Linked DNA regions of Homo sapiens: region 1 is linked to region 2. The links are contacts of gene promoters, found by promoter capture Hi-C in human tissues and cell types (Jung and others, 2019). All regions are on one chromosome and are shown on one strand. Each heading gives the region's core, a stretch centred on a gene start or on the middle of the fragment in contact. The rest is flanking DNA. Distances are from core to core; before and after follow the strand shown.

Region 1 (5,949 bases), core at 1,697-4,196, 220 kb after region 2:
TTACATTCCTACCAACAGGGCACAATGGTTCCAATTTCTTCACATCCTCACCAACACTTATTTTCATTTTTTAAAAATAGTAGTCATCCTAGTAGGTGTGAGATGGCATGTTTCCAATCTTTTGCTGATAAAAACGGCAGTGGATAATCTTGTACACACCTCATTTCACACATATGAAAATATATCTGTCGTTTAATTCCTAAGAGTGGAATTGCTGGATCAAAGCATCTTTTGGAATTTCTTATGGAAGTCTAACTTATACACAAAGTTGCACACAAATCCCAAGTGCTTAGCTTGATGAATTTTCACGGAGTGACCACGCTCCTGAAGATGGTGTCCAGAACATTGTCAGCCCCAGAGAAGCCCCCAGATGGCCCCCAAAGAGCAGCCATCATCCTGACTTTAACATCATAAATTAGTTTTGCCTCTTGTGAACTTTTTGTGAGTGGAATCACACAATATGTATTATTTTGCGTGTGGCTTCTTTTGCTCGACACATATGTGTGCAAGTTCCATCTACACTGCTGTGTGTAGTTGTTCATTCATTTTCATTCTCACTGGAGTATTGCATTGTATGAAGATACCACAATTTATCCGTTCTGCTGTCGATGAGCATTTGGGTAGTTCCTGGTTTAGGGATATTTCAAATTATGTGGCTATGGAGATCACTGGCATAGTCCTGTCCAATAAAATATGATAGACACAGAAGAACTGAAAATATGAGTCAAACAGATATTTGTACCAAAATGTTCACAGCAGCACTATTCACCATAGCCAAAAGTGGAAACAACCGAAATGCCCATCAGTGAATGAATGGATAAACAAAATGTGGTATATCCTTACAATGGAACATTATTCAGTCTTAAAAAAGGAAGGAAGGTCTGACATATGCTACAACATGCGTGAACCTTGAAGACACTATACTGAGTGAAATAAGCCAGCAACCAAGGACAAATTGTATATGATTTCTCCCGTATGAGGCAACCTAGAATAGTCCAGTTCACAGAGACAGAAAGTAGAATAGTGGCTGCCAGGGGCTGGGAGGAGAGGAGCAAGCGGAGTTGTTGTTTTATAGAGGCAGAGTGTCAGTTTGGGAAGATGAAAACGCTCTGGGGGTAGATGATGGTGATGGTTGCGCAACAATGGGAATGTACTTAACACAGCTGAACTTCTGGACCCTTAAAAATGGTCCAAATGGTAAATGTTATGCATATCTTACCACAATAAAAAGGTAAAAATATATAATATGATCCACAATGCAAGCCATGTATATTTCTAGCAGCCACATTCAAAAAAGAAAAAGAAATAGGTAAAAGTAATTTTAAAAATTACTTAACCCAGGCCAGGTACAGTGGCTCATGCTTGTAATCCCAGCATTTTGGGAGGCTGAGGTGGGCAGATCACTTGAGGTCAGGAGTTTGAGACCAGCCTGGCCAACATGGTGAAACCCCATCTCTACTAAACATACAAAACAAAATTAACTACGGGTGGTAGCAGGTGCCTGTAGTCCCAGCTGCTCAGGAGGCTGAGGCAGGAGAGTCACTTGAATCCGGGAGGCAGAGGTTGCAGTGAGCCAAGATCATGCCACTGCACTCCAGCCTGGGCGACATAGTGAGACTCCGTCTCAAAAAAATAAAAAACAAAAATAAAAATTACTTAATCCAATCTATCCAAAATATTATTGCGACACATCATCAATATTAGCAAGTTATTAAGGAGTCATTTTGCATTTTTGTTAGTATACAAAATCCCATATATATTTCACACTTGCAGCACATCTCAATTTGACCAGCCATATTTCTTTCTTTTTTCTGAGACTGTCTCGCTCTGCTGCTCAGGCCGGAGTGCAGTAGCACGATCTTGGCTCACTGCAGCCTCCGCCCCTGGGTTCAAGCAATTGTTGTGCCTCAGCCTCCCAAGTAGCTGGAACTACAGGTACGTGCCACCACGCCTGGCTGATTTTTGTATTTTTAGTAGAGACAGGGTTTTGCCATGTCAGCCAGGCTTGGATCAGCCATATTTCAAGGACTCAGCAGCCACATGTGGTGGGTGGCTCCACATCAGATCATGCAGGTCTAGTTCAAGTCTTTTGATGAATGTATCATGCATACCTGTTAGATATGTGCATTTTTAATTTTGATAGATGTTACCAGATTAGCTTCTATAGGTGTTAAACCAAGTTTTCTTTTCTGGTTTTTTTTTTTTTTTTTTTTTGGTTTGTTTGGAGATGGAGTCTCACTCTGTTGCCCAGGATGGAGTGCAATGGCGAGATCTCAGCTCACTGCAAGCTCCGCCTCCTGGGTTCAAGTGATTCTCCTGCCTCAGCCTCCCGAGTAGCTGGGACTACTGGCGTGTGCCACCACACCCAGCTAATGTTTGTATTTTTAGTAGAGACAGGGTTTCGCCATATTGGCCAGGCTGGTCTTGAACTCCCGACCTCAGGTGATCCGCCCTCCTCGGCCTCCCAAAGTGCTGGGATTACAGGTGTGAGCTATCGCACCTGGCCAAAACCAAGTTTTAATCCCACCAACAATGTAAGAAGGAGTGTGTCTCCATATCCCCACCTGCATAAGTTTGCCAGTTTGATAGCAAAACAGTGCCTGCTCAGGTGGTGTGGGTTTAACACGTTTCTCTTCCTAGGAGTGAAAATGAGAATCTTTTTATATGTTAAAATGCCGCTGCGCTTTCCTTTCTGTGAACCATTGGCTCACCAATTTGAGGGCTATTTTATACTTCTCTCACCCCTCTCCCCGTTCTCCAGGCCCCACCAGAGTTGGGACTAAATGAGGGCTCAAAGCCAGATATTTCAGAATCGTGCTGTTGTCTTGCTGGCAAATTCTGTCTGAGTTCTGGGAAGCAGGGCTTATCCTTGAGGGCACACCGCCCCCTGCTGGCCAAGATGGGTTTTTCCTCCCCAGCTTAGACCAGGAGAGGAGGCAGGACGGCTGGCGACTGAGGGGGGCTGCCTCTGGAGTCTGGGTTTGATCTCACGTATACCATTGACTCCTATGTGACCTCAGGTAAGCAACTTCACCTCTCTGGGCTTTCTACTTCCTCACCTATAAAATCGAAATAATAGCCATTCTTCTCACTCTCGGCGTTGTTGGAGGAATAATCCGGTGATCGGGCTTGAAGGTGCTTCACAGAGTGTGGCAAAAAACAAGTGCTAACTAAACAGTGGCTGGGATTCTTGACATTCAGAAAGACCCAGTGGAGAGAGAGAAAGGATGACGGGAGCTTAGCAAAAGAAGCAGCTGGTGCAGCTGGAATTTCATAGGTCCACTTCTGCCTAGCCAACTTCTAAACCTGTTTTCTCTTGGCTCCCTTACTTTCCAGCCAGAGGCTCAGTCATACTGCAATGCTGAGAACTCCCTGCCTAAGCCAGACAGGGCCTTGACCTTTCCCCCACGTTGGGCTGGGCACACTAGAGTGCTGAGCAAATCCACACTCAGCACCTCCCCTCCCCCCCCCACACACACACATACACAAAGCCACACATGCAAAGCATTTGGATATCTTCTTCCAGGGAGCTTATAGACACCCCAGCAGAGGCTTCTGTGATCACACTGGCTGAGCACCAGCTCTCTGTGTGGTGCTGGATGAGGGGAGTTTTATCTGAGCCACTCTGGCCCCCCGCTGTAGGGCCCTGTCCTCTTATTTGACATTCAACTCTTGCCTAATTGACAATTACACTCATATCCTTCCTCTGCTCTGCAACCTTCCATGGCTCCCCAGTGCCTACCACCTAAGGCCAGATTCCTCACCCTGGCATTCAAGGCCACTCATGGCCTTGGATGGTCTGTGTGTGGAGGGGCCCACTAGGCTACATGAGGAACGCTCTCTCAAATCCTGCCCTTCCTTCAAGATTGAACTAAATGCCACTTCCTTCCTTCCTTCATTTCTCTACCCATTCATTCAACATGATTTATTAAACACAAAATGGATTTATTAGCACATATTTATTACCTACTATGTGAAGACATTATTCTAGGCAGTGGAGAGAGATAGTGGTCTCAGCCAATTGCAACTGAAATGTGTTAGTTTTGCAAATGTGAAACATATGCCCATGCGAATGCGTTGGAAAGTTCCTCCATGGCCCTGGGAGAGGACATGCAAGTCAGGAGCCCTGATGCGTCACCAGCCTCACAGTAAATTCACCTCTGTGCCCAAGAATGCAGGGCTGTCTCCTGGTCCAGGATCATGGTCTCTTCCTCCTCTGATCTCCAAGGACTTGCACTCTCGGCTCTGCCACTGACCAGCTTTGTGACTTTGGGAAGTCATTTTTCTAAGTCTCAGATTATGTATGTAAATGGGTATATAGGAAGTGATTCCTACCTTGAGAGAGGAATTAAATGTTAATTAAATTGCTTAAAGGGGTTAGGTTACATTAGATTAGGTGTAAAAACGTCTGCACGTGGTAAGTGCTCATTGAGCGGCAGCCATTATTATTACTATTAGCCGCAGCTGACTTGGGCAACACCTGCTACCTGCTTCCAGATGGATCCAGAGGTTTGCTTTCTTTGCCCACTGGAGGGCAGCAGAAAGCAGAAACCTGCCTTCCAGAGCTTTGCACCCCGGCTAACACCTAACACTGGCCTCTCAAGAGGCAGGAGGAAGGGTAAGGGGTTTCTGGGCTCAAAAGTGAGGCTGGCCAGTGAATTTTCTGTGTCTCTAGGACTGGATGCTAGTGGCTGGGGTAGGTTCCCTAAACAGCTCCAATCAATGCAAAGGCAGCCAAGTCATCCAGCCCACAGCCCCAGTGTCCGTCCCTGGATGCATCCCACAGTCCTGGACAGGATGGGCAGGAGTTCTGGCCTCTGGAGCTGCTCTTCGCATTTCTGTCTGTGTGACCTTGGGCAAGTGCCTTGACCTCTCTGTGCCTCCATTTCTTTTTCCGTAAAATGGAAATATTGCTGTTTCCCCCAAAAGGAAAAGCTTCCATATATGCAGAGGGATGGCCATGCTTGCGTTGCTTTGCATCAGGTAAATCTGTTACATTGTAATTAGCTTTTTTCTTCTGATCACAAATGCAATGCATTAATTGGTTTGAATATTTTGAGTGCCCTACAGCAGGTCAACCCCTGCATGAGCTGATGAAATTGGCAAAAATGAAGCTAGTCATTGTGTTGGGGTGGTGGGATTCTGGATGACAGAGTTCCCCCCTCAGCAACCGCCACCCCATTCTCCCAACTTTCTATGTTATTGCATCGCCTTTACAATGGTAGAAAAGAGAGACCAGGAGGAACGTAACTGAGCACTTACTATGTGTGAGATGTTTCCATTTATCCTTTCCCTAATTCTGCAGGCTCTACACGGCAAGCCCATGTCTGTGTTGCTTGCTGCTGTTTTCCCAGTGCCCAGCACCGTACCTGGCATGTCGTTGGTCCTCAAAACATACTTGTTTAGCAGTCAAAGAAATGATTTGTGCAAAGTTTACAAATGAGGAAATTGAGGTTCAAAGAGGTTATGTGACTTGTTCAATATCACCTAGCTAGTGGGACGCAGGACCAGGATCATTGGACTTCAGGTCCTGAGGAAGGTCTTTCTACTCATGCCTGTCCCTCTGCCTCCTCACATTCCGACACCCTCTTTGTAAAGCTGTCTTATTTTACAGGCATCTGATCAGGCGGCCTGCAAGAAGAGTGCGCCCCCTTAGCCAGTATGGCCACGCTTCCTCCCTTAGGGGCTGCTGGGTGTGCCCCTCATCTTCTCAACCCCCTGGGGACCCCTGGAGGATCTGGAGCACACCCTCCAGCTGGGGGATTTGCCCAGCAGGTGAGGCCCCTTAGTCGCTGTAGCCCATTTGGAAGTTTGGCAGGTGGATTTCTAGTGCAAGGCCACCTCTGCCCTCTGAGCTCAGAGCCACCTATTTCTGCCCCACCCAGTCCTGCACACAGCTGGTAGCAGGTGCAGGGAGGAGGCAAAAGCCAGACTTTGCCCCTTTATCTT
Region 2 (5,985 bases), core at 3,104-5,603:
CACGGTGAAACCCCGTCTCTACTAAAAATACAAAAAAAATTAGCTGGGCGTGGTGGCGGGCACCTGTAGTCCCAGCTACTCAGGAGGCTGAGGCAGGAGAATGGCGTGAACCTGGGAGGAGGAGGTTGCAGTGAGCTGAGATCGCGCCACTGCACTCCAGCCTGGGCAACAGAGTGAGACTCCGTCTCAAAAAAAAAAAAAAAAAAAAGTTCTGACACATAGGCTACAAAAACTGTCCCCATCCTCCCTAGAATAGCAGACACTCCAAAGGCTACGGGGTAACTGATCAACTATCCTTATAAAATCTAGAGACAGAACACCCAGGTTTAAGCCCTCTGTTCCAGACATACTGACCTGCTATATGGCCGCTGATCCTCAACATCCTCATATAAAAAGTCAGAGAAATAATCAGAATCCTTCTCAAATGACATACCTCCACTGGCTCAACATATATTTATTGAGCACCTAATATGTTTCACATCTTATTCTAAGTATTGGGATACAATAATGACTAAGAACAAGATCACTGATGGAACTTACATCTAATGTAAGACAATCTTAAAAACAAGATTCAATAACTTAATTGCCTTGATGGCCCCAATTAATGGCCTTCCTGTAGCCACACCCTTCATCCTATAATTTCTACTCCCCTCTCACTCTGAATGTGGGCTGGTCTTGTGACTTGCTTTGGTCAATAGAATGTAGTGAAAGAGGCCAGGTGCGGTGGCTCATGGCTGTAATCCCAGCATTTTGGGAGGTCAGGAGTTCGAGACCAGCCTGGCCAACACAGTGAAACCCACCCTGTCTCCACTAAACATACAAAAATTATCCAGGCATGGTGGCTCGCACCTGTAATTCCAGCTACTCGGGAGGCTGAGGCAGGAGAATCGTTTGAACTCAGGAGGCTTGAACCCAGGAAGTTGCAGTAAGCTGAGATCATGCCACTGTACTCCAGCCTAGGCAACAGAGTAAGACTGCATCTCAATTAAAAAAAAAAAACGTAGTGGAAGTGATGGTTCCAGTTCTGCATTTAGTTCTCAAGAGGCCTGGTGTGCTTCCACTCTTGTCTTCTGAGCCCCTGCCATTGCCATGAGAATACCATGAGAATAGCCTGGACTAGCCTACTGGAGGACAAAAGGCCATAGGGAGGAAAGCCAAGATGTTCCAGCTGACAGCCAGTCGCTCCCTCATATACCCAGCGAGAGCTCCCACTCAGCTTTCAGTGGGCATAGGAGGGAACCCAGCCAAGACCAGAAGAACTGCCCAGCTGAACTTTGCCCATTGCCAACTGTGGAATTATTAGCTAAATAAATGATTGTTGTTGACGGCCACTAAATTTGAAGGTGGTTACACAGCGAGAGCTGACTGATACACAGGTAATGTCTGGTCATTCACGGAAGATGAAACTGAAAGAACGGCTGTCATTCAGGTGCTTGCTGTACCTGAAACTTGACTGAAAGGACCTTGTAAACTGTAAAGTGAGGTGTTGCTTGTCACCCCTCTACCAGGCAGGTAGTTGACACCGATCTACCCAAAGACGTACACCCTTCATCCTCTACCTTGCAAGAGAGGATGTTCCCAAAGGTGGAGAAGGTATCATATAAAGCCTTGTTGTCAATGGAGTCCTCCAGGTTCTTGATGAAGATGTTGCCCACACCTGACTTGCGAAGTCCTGGGTCTCGCTGGGACCACATGATGCGAATAGGCTGGCCTTTGAGCATCTCAAAGTTCATTGTGTCCAGTGCCCGCTCCGCTGGACAGAAGGAAGAGGAGAGAAATTAGCAAGTTTAGGGAATTTTCTTACCTTGATCACCCACCCCTCGAGGTGCTTAACTGGGAGCCAATAAAGAGAAAGTCATTGTCTGGGTCCCAGACAATAAGCCAAGATAAGAGCCCAAATAACTGAGATAAGAGCCCAAAGGCTCAGGAAGGATAAGCTGAGAATTAGTGTGTATGGTGCTCCCCCAACCTTCCAGTTATGATCTCATTCAACCAACTCCCTGCAGCCACATGAGCATGGATTCCTGCCCCTCATTTTACAGATGGGAAAACTGAGAATAAGAAACATGAAAGGTCTGTGGCAGCGTCAGGTCTATTCTGGATTCTAAAGTACACTGAGTGGATAACAATGTCCATATGACAAGGGGTGGCAGCACTTTGAGGAAATTAAAACTCAGAGGTGCTGCAGGGCAGAGCTGAGGTTAGATCTCAAGCAGTCCGGCTCTGGGGAAAGTGGACATTACCTCTCTGAGCCTGTTCCTCACCTGTAAAGGGGGAATGATGGTAATATTACCTACTTTTCCACACCTAACAAAGGGAGATACTACCAACTACCAGGTTGTTGGAGGGACTGAAAAATAAAGAAGGTATGTAAAAGTGCCTTGTTTGTAACTTTGTGCCTGACACAAAATAATGTCTCAAAACAGCAGCCGATGCCCAGCCTCCGGCCACTGCTGCAGCCTGTGTCTCTCCTGGGTGATACACGTGACCTGTTTCAGGGAGTCTGCTAGTGCAGAGACATGGAAGGGGGCTGTGGGGAACACAGTGGAGCAAGTTTCAGGAAGCCCGGATTCTCCACCTAGTCTTATCATAAATACCTGGGGCAAAACCCTTCTCTCTGCAGCACGGTTTCCAGGCCGAGTCCCACTTCATTCACAGGGCTTGGAGGAAGATGGGAAGAGGCAGGAGGTGGAGCAAAGCAGAACAAACAGAAAAGTGCCCAGGAATCCAGCCCAGTAAGGGGCGGGGAACAGGCCCGGCGGAACAACCCCTTCCCTAGCAAACCACCCACTCAGGCAACCACCAGGTTCACCCAGGCGACCTGGCGCAAGGGATCCCTCTAGTGGACGCCGGCCATTTTTTGGGTGAGTTTCTGGAGTCTTACATCAGAATGTTAAAGCCACTATTTTCGTTGTTGTTTCTTTTTTGTTTGTTGTTTTGTTTTGTGTTGAGATGGAGTCTCGCTCTGTTGCCCGGGCTGGAGTGCAATGGCGCAGTCTCGGCTCACTGCAACCTCTGCCTCCCGGATTCAAGCGATTCTCGTGCCTCAGCCTCCCCAGCAGTTGGGATTACAGGCGTCCGCCATCATGCCCAGCTATTTTTTGTATTTTTAGTAGAGAAAGGGTTTCGCTATGTTGGCCAGGCTGGTCTCGAACTCCTGACCTCAAGTGATCTGCCCACCTCGGCCTCCTAAGATGCTGGGATTACAGGCGTGAGCCACTGCGCCTGGCCTTATTTATTTATTTATTTATTTATTTATTTATTTATTTATTTATTTTAGGTTACCACTTAAGAGCGTTTACGAGGTAACAAGCAGTTACCATTCTTTATGCATAGACAGCAGTTCTCCATTCTTTATGTTATTGGAGAATACGCCTTAGCCCCATTTTGCAGATGAAAAGGTGCAGAGCGTGAAGGCTTGCCCAAGCTCACTCATCCTCTCCACTCTCAACAGAAGTGCAGGCAAACTCATCGGACAAGCTCTAATCAATGCTATCAGCTCTGAGAAAGCGGCCTTGCGGCCTGGAGGCAGCGGTTTTTCAGAGCCCGTGCAGGTAGAGGCGCCCAGTGTGGATCTCACGTCGCGCTGGGAAAGGCCTGAGCCCAAGGCTGGGTTCTCCTGCCTCCCCTGCTCACCAGCTGTGTTGCCTTGGGCATCTTCCTCACCAGGTGCTTTGAATCTCTCATCCTCACAAGCACTCTATAAGGCAGCTAGGACCCCCATTTTCCAGACACGCATCTGAAGCTCAGAATGGTCGAGTAACTTGCCCAGAGTCACACGGCTGCTGGGCTTCTATCCCTGGTCCGCCTGACCCCCACCCCCACCCCCACAAAGCCTGTATCTGTTTTCACTCGACCCTAATCTCTCTCCTCTGTAGAGGAATAGCAGTAAACCACACTAATTACCAATTCCCGTCTCAGGGGCCAGGCCTCTGCCAACGCCCTGTTATCTTTGAGCCTCAGTTTCCCCGGCTGCAAAGTGTAAGATGAAAGCGCAAGCGGCCCAGTTCCGGCTTCTGTCTGTCCGCCTGCTTGTCCGTCGGTCCTTCCCCTCCCGCCCCATCCCCGGGGCTCACCGTCCGCGGGCTGCTGGAAGTTGATGTAGGCGTAGCCCAGCGAGCGCCGGGTGGCTACATCGCGGCACACGCGGATGGACAGGATGGGGCCGGCGGGAGAGAACTTCTCATAGAGCATGGCCTCGGTCACGTCGGGGTGCAGATCGCCCACGTAAAGCGAGGCAAGCGGGTAGCCAGAACCGCTGGCGTTCATGGTGGGCAGGGGGCCGGGGCTGCGGGGCAAGCAGGAGCCGGGTCACCCAGCAGCCCCGCGCTCACCCGGGCGGAAGCCCTCCTTCCTGGGCGCGGGCCCGCCCCTTCCCTTTACCGCCCCCGCGTCCCTGCGCACCAATCGTGGGCGCGCTCGGACGCCCCTCCCCCGGGATCCCTCCTGGGCCCACCCCCCACCTGCGAGCACTTGGGGATCTAAAAGCTACAGGTGGGGACACCTCTGACCCCGCCCTGGGAGGCGGAAAAAGCCTTCAACCTGGCCTTGAGCAGGGCTGCTGGGACTTGAGTGGAGCTCTCAAAACCCCCAGCTCTTTTGAAAGAGCCGAGGACTGGGACGGAAAGGACGCAGGGGACTGAGTTCTAACCCCGGAACAGATGATCATCTTTCTGAACCCGTTTCCCTTCTCTGTAAAATGGGAATGATTCCCTCCTGACAAGAATGAAAGGAGACCCAAACCGCGCTTTTTGCGTTTCACACACAAACGGAATTCCGAACAGGCCACTGTTTCAAAGCTTGTGTAGAGAATTTTACCCTGCTCCATTGAAGATGTCTTCCTCCAGAGAGCCTGATCCAGTCCCACCGTTTCGCACCAAGGATGGAAATGGCTTTGAGACATGAGAACTGGAGACCACTAAGGCCTTTCTTGGTACTGGCTCATATTACCAAGACCCCTTTTCCTGGGATATTCCCTGTCCCTCTGCTAAGCCATTACACATCCATTACACCAGGGAGGTTCACTGAGTTACTTGTGGCTCAGCCTAAATGCGGACAATTGGGAACTAATAGCAGAGCAAGACCTAAACAGAGCAAGACTGTGAATCTGAGCTTGCAGCGTCAATCTGTGGTATAGGGACATTAAAAACAACACAAAAACAAAACAACTACTCCACTGAGCACCAATACTTCACTTTTCCTCTGATAGGACTTTCCTGGTCTCACTGATCCAACAGAGCAGGTAGGCCCCCACTGACTTTTGGTTGAGTGTGGCTTCAACAGGTGGAACAGCTCCTAAACTAGGGACAGAAGGTGCCCATCTGGCTGTCCAGCCTCAGAGTAGCAAGGAAGCACTAATTCTAATCTTGGGCTAAAAAAGACCCCTCTATCCTGATATTTTTCTCTCCTTGTGGTAATGTGGATGTTTTCAGAAGGGGCAAATCCTGTGAGGAACCAGCTCTGCAGGCCACCATACAGTGTGAGGACAGGTGAGACGCCAGCTTGGTGATGACCAAGACTTATGCAACCATAGGTTACCTATTTCACTGGCTTGGTTGTATCTCAGAGTTAAAAAATGGGGAAGGGATGGTGGGCTCGAATACAATGCAAAATAACTGTCCATACCAAATCTTAGAAGTCACTAAAGAGGACCTAATACCTGCATGGTTTGTTGTGGAAGGTAGAGAGGTATCAAGTAACGGGTGTAAAGAGGCTGTTTAATTAATGGTAATTTCTTCCCCTGGATAACACCTTGACTTCTGGTCCTAAATAATGAAATAAAACTGTTTGCCTATTTTTAAAGAAAACAGAGTTAAAAATAAGTGTGATCAGAATAGTTAGCTAGGTCTGGTAACAACAGAGATGGTGGTGACACATCAATTCACAGGCAACTAACTGATAAAATTTTTATTTCACTTTTGAATTTTTACACTTTTCCTGATTATTCTGTGTAAGGTGAAACTAGAACTGTTTAAAAGACATACA

What was found. Contacts are between HindIII fragments. The study calls those that stand out against the background at their distance.
Region 1: a fragment that was not itself captured here is called in contact with the fragment with the promoter of PABPC1L in region 2 in 1 of the 25 tissues and cell types used here (bladder).

What each region holds. Positions count from the first base shown.
Region 1 is chr20:44,682,303-44,688,251 of GRCh38, reverse strand. No RefSeq gene overlaps it. Among named protein-coding and RNA genes, the nearest start is that of LINC01260, 14 kb to the right of the region's middle. RefSeq lists silencers at 2,885-3,004, 4,606-4,665. The HindIII fragment of the contact is 5,388 bases long and covers 253-5,640 here.
Region 2 is chr20:44,908,428-44,914,412 of GRCh38, reverse strand. It overlaps PABPC1L (poly(A) binding protein cytoplasmic 1 like), which reads right to left and starts at 4,353. Exons shown (of 15, transcript NM_001372179.1): 1 at 4,077-4,353; 2 at 1,560-1,753. The coding sequence starts at 4,269. YWHAB (tyrosine 3-monooxygenase/tryptophan 5-monooxygenase activation protein beta) reads right to left here. Exons shown (of 6, transcript NM_139323.4): 6 at 5,881-5,985. RefSeq lists a silencer at 4,170-4,499. The HindIII fragment of the contact is 11,748 bases long and covers 1-5,985 here.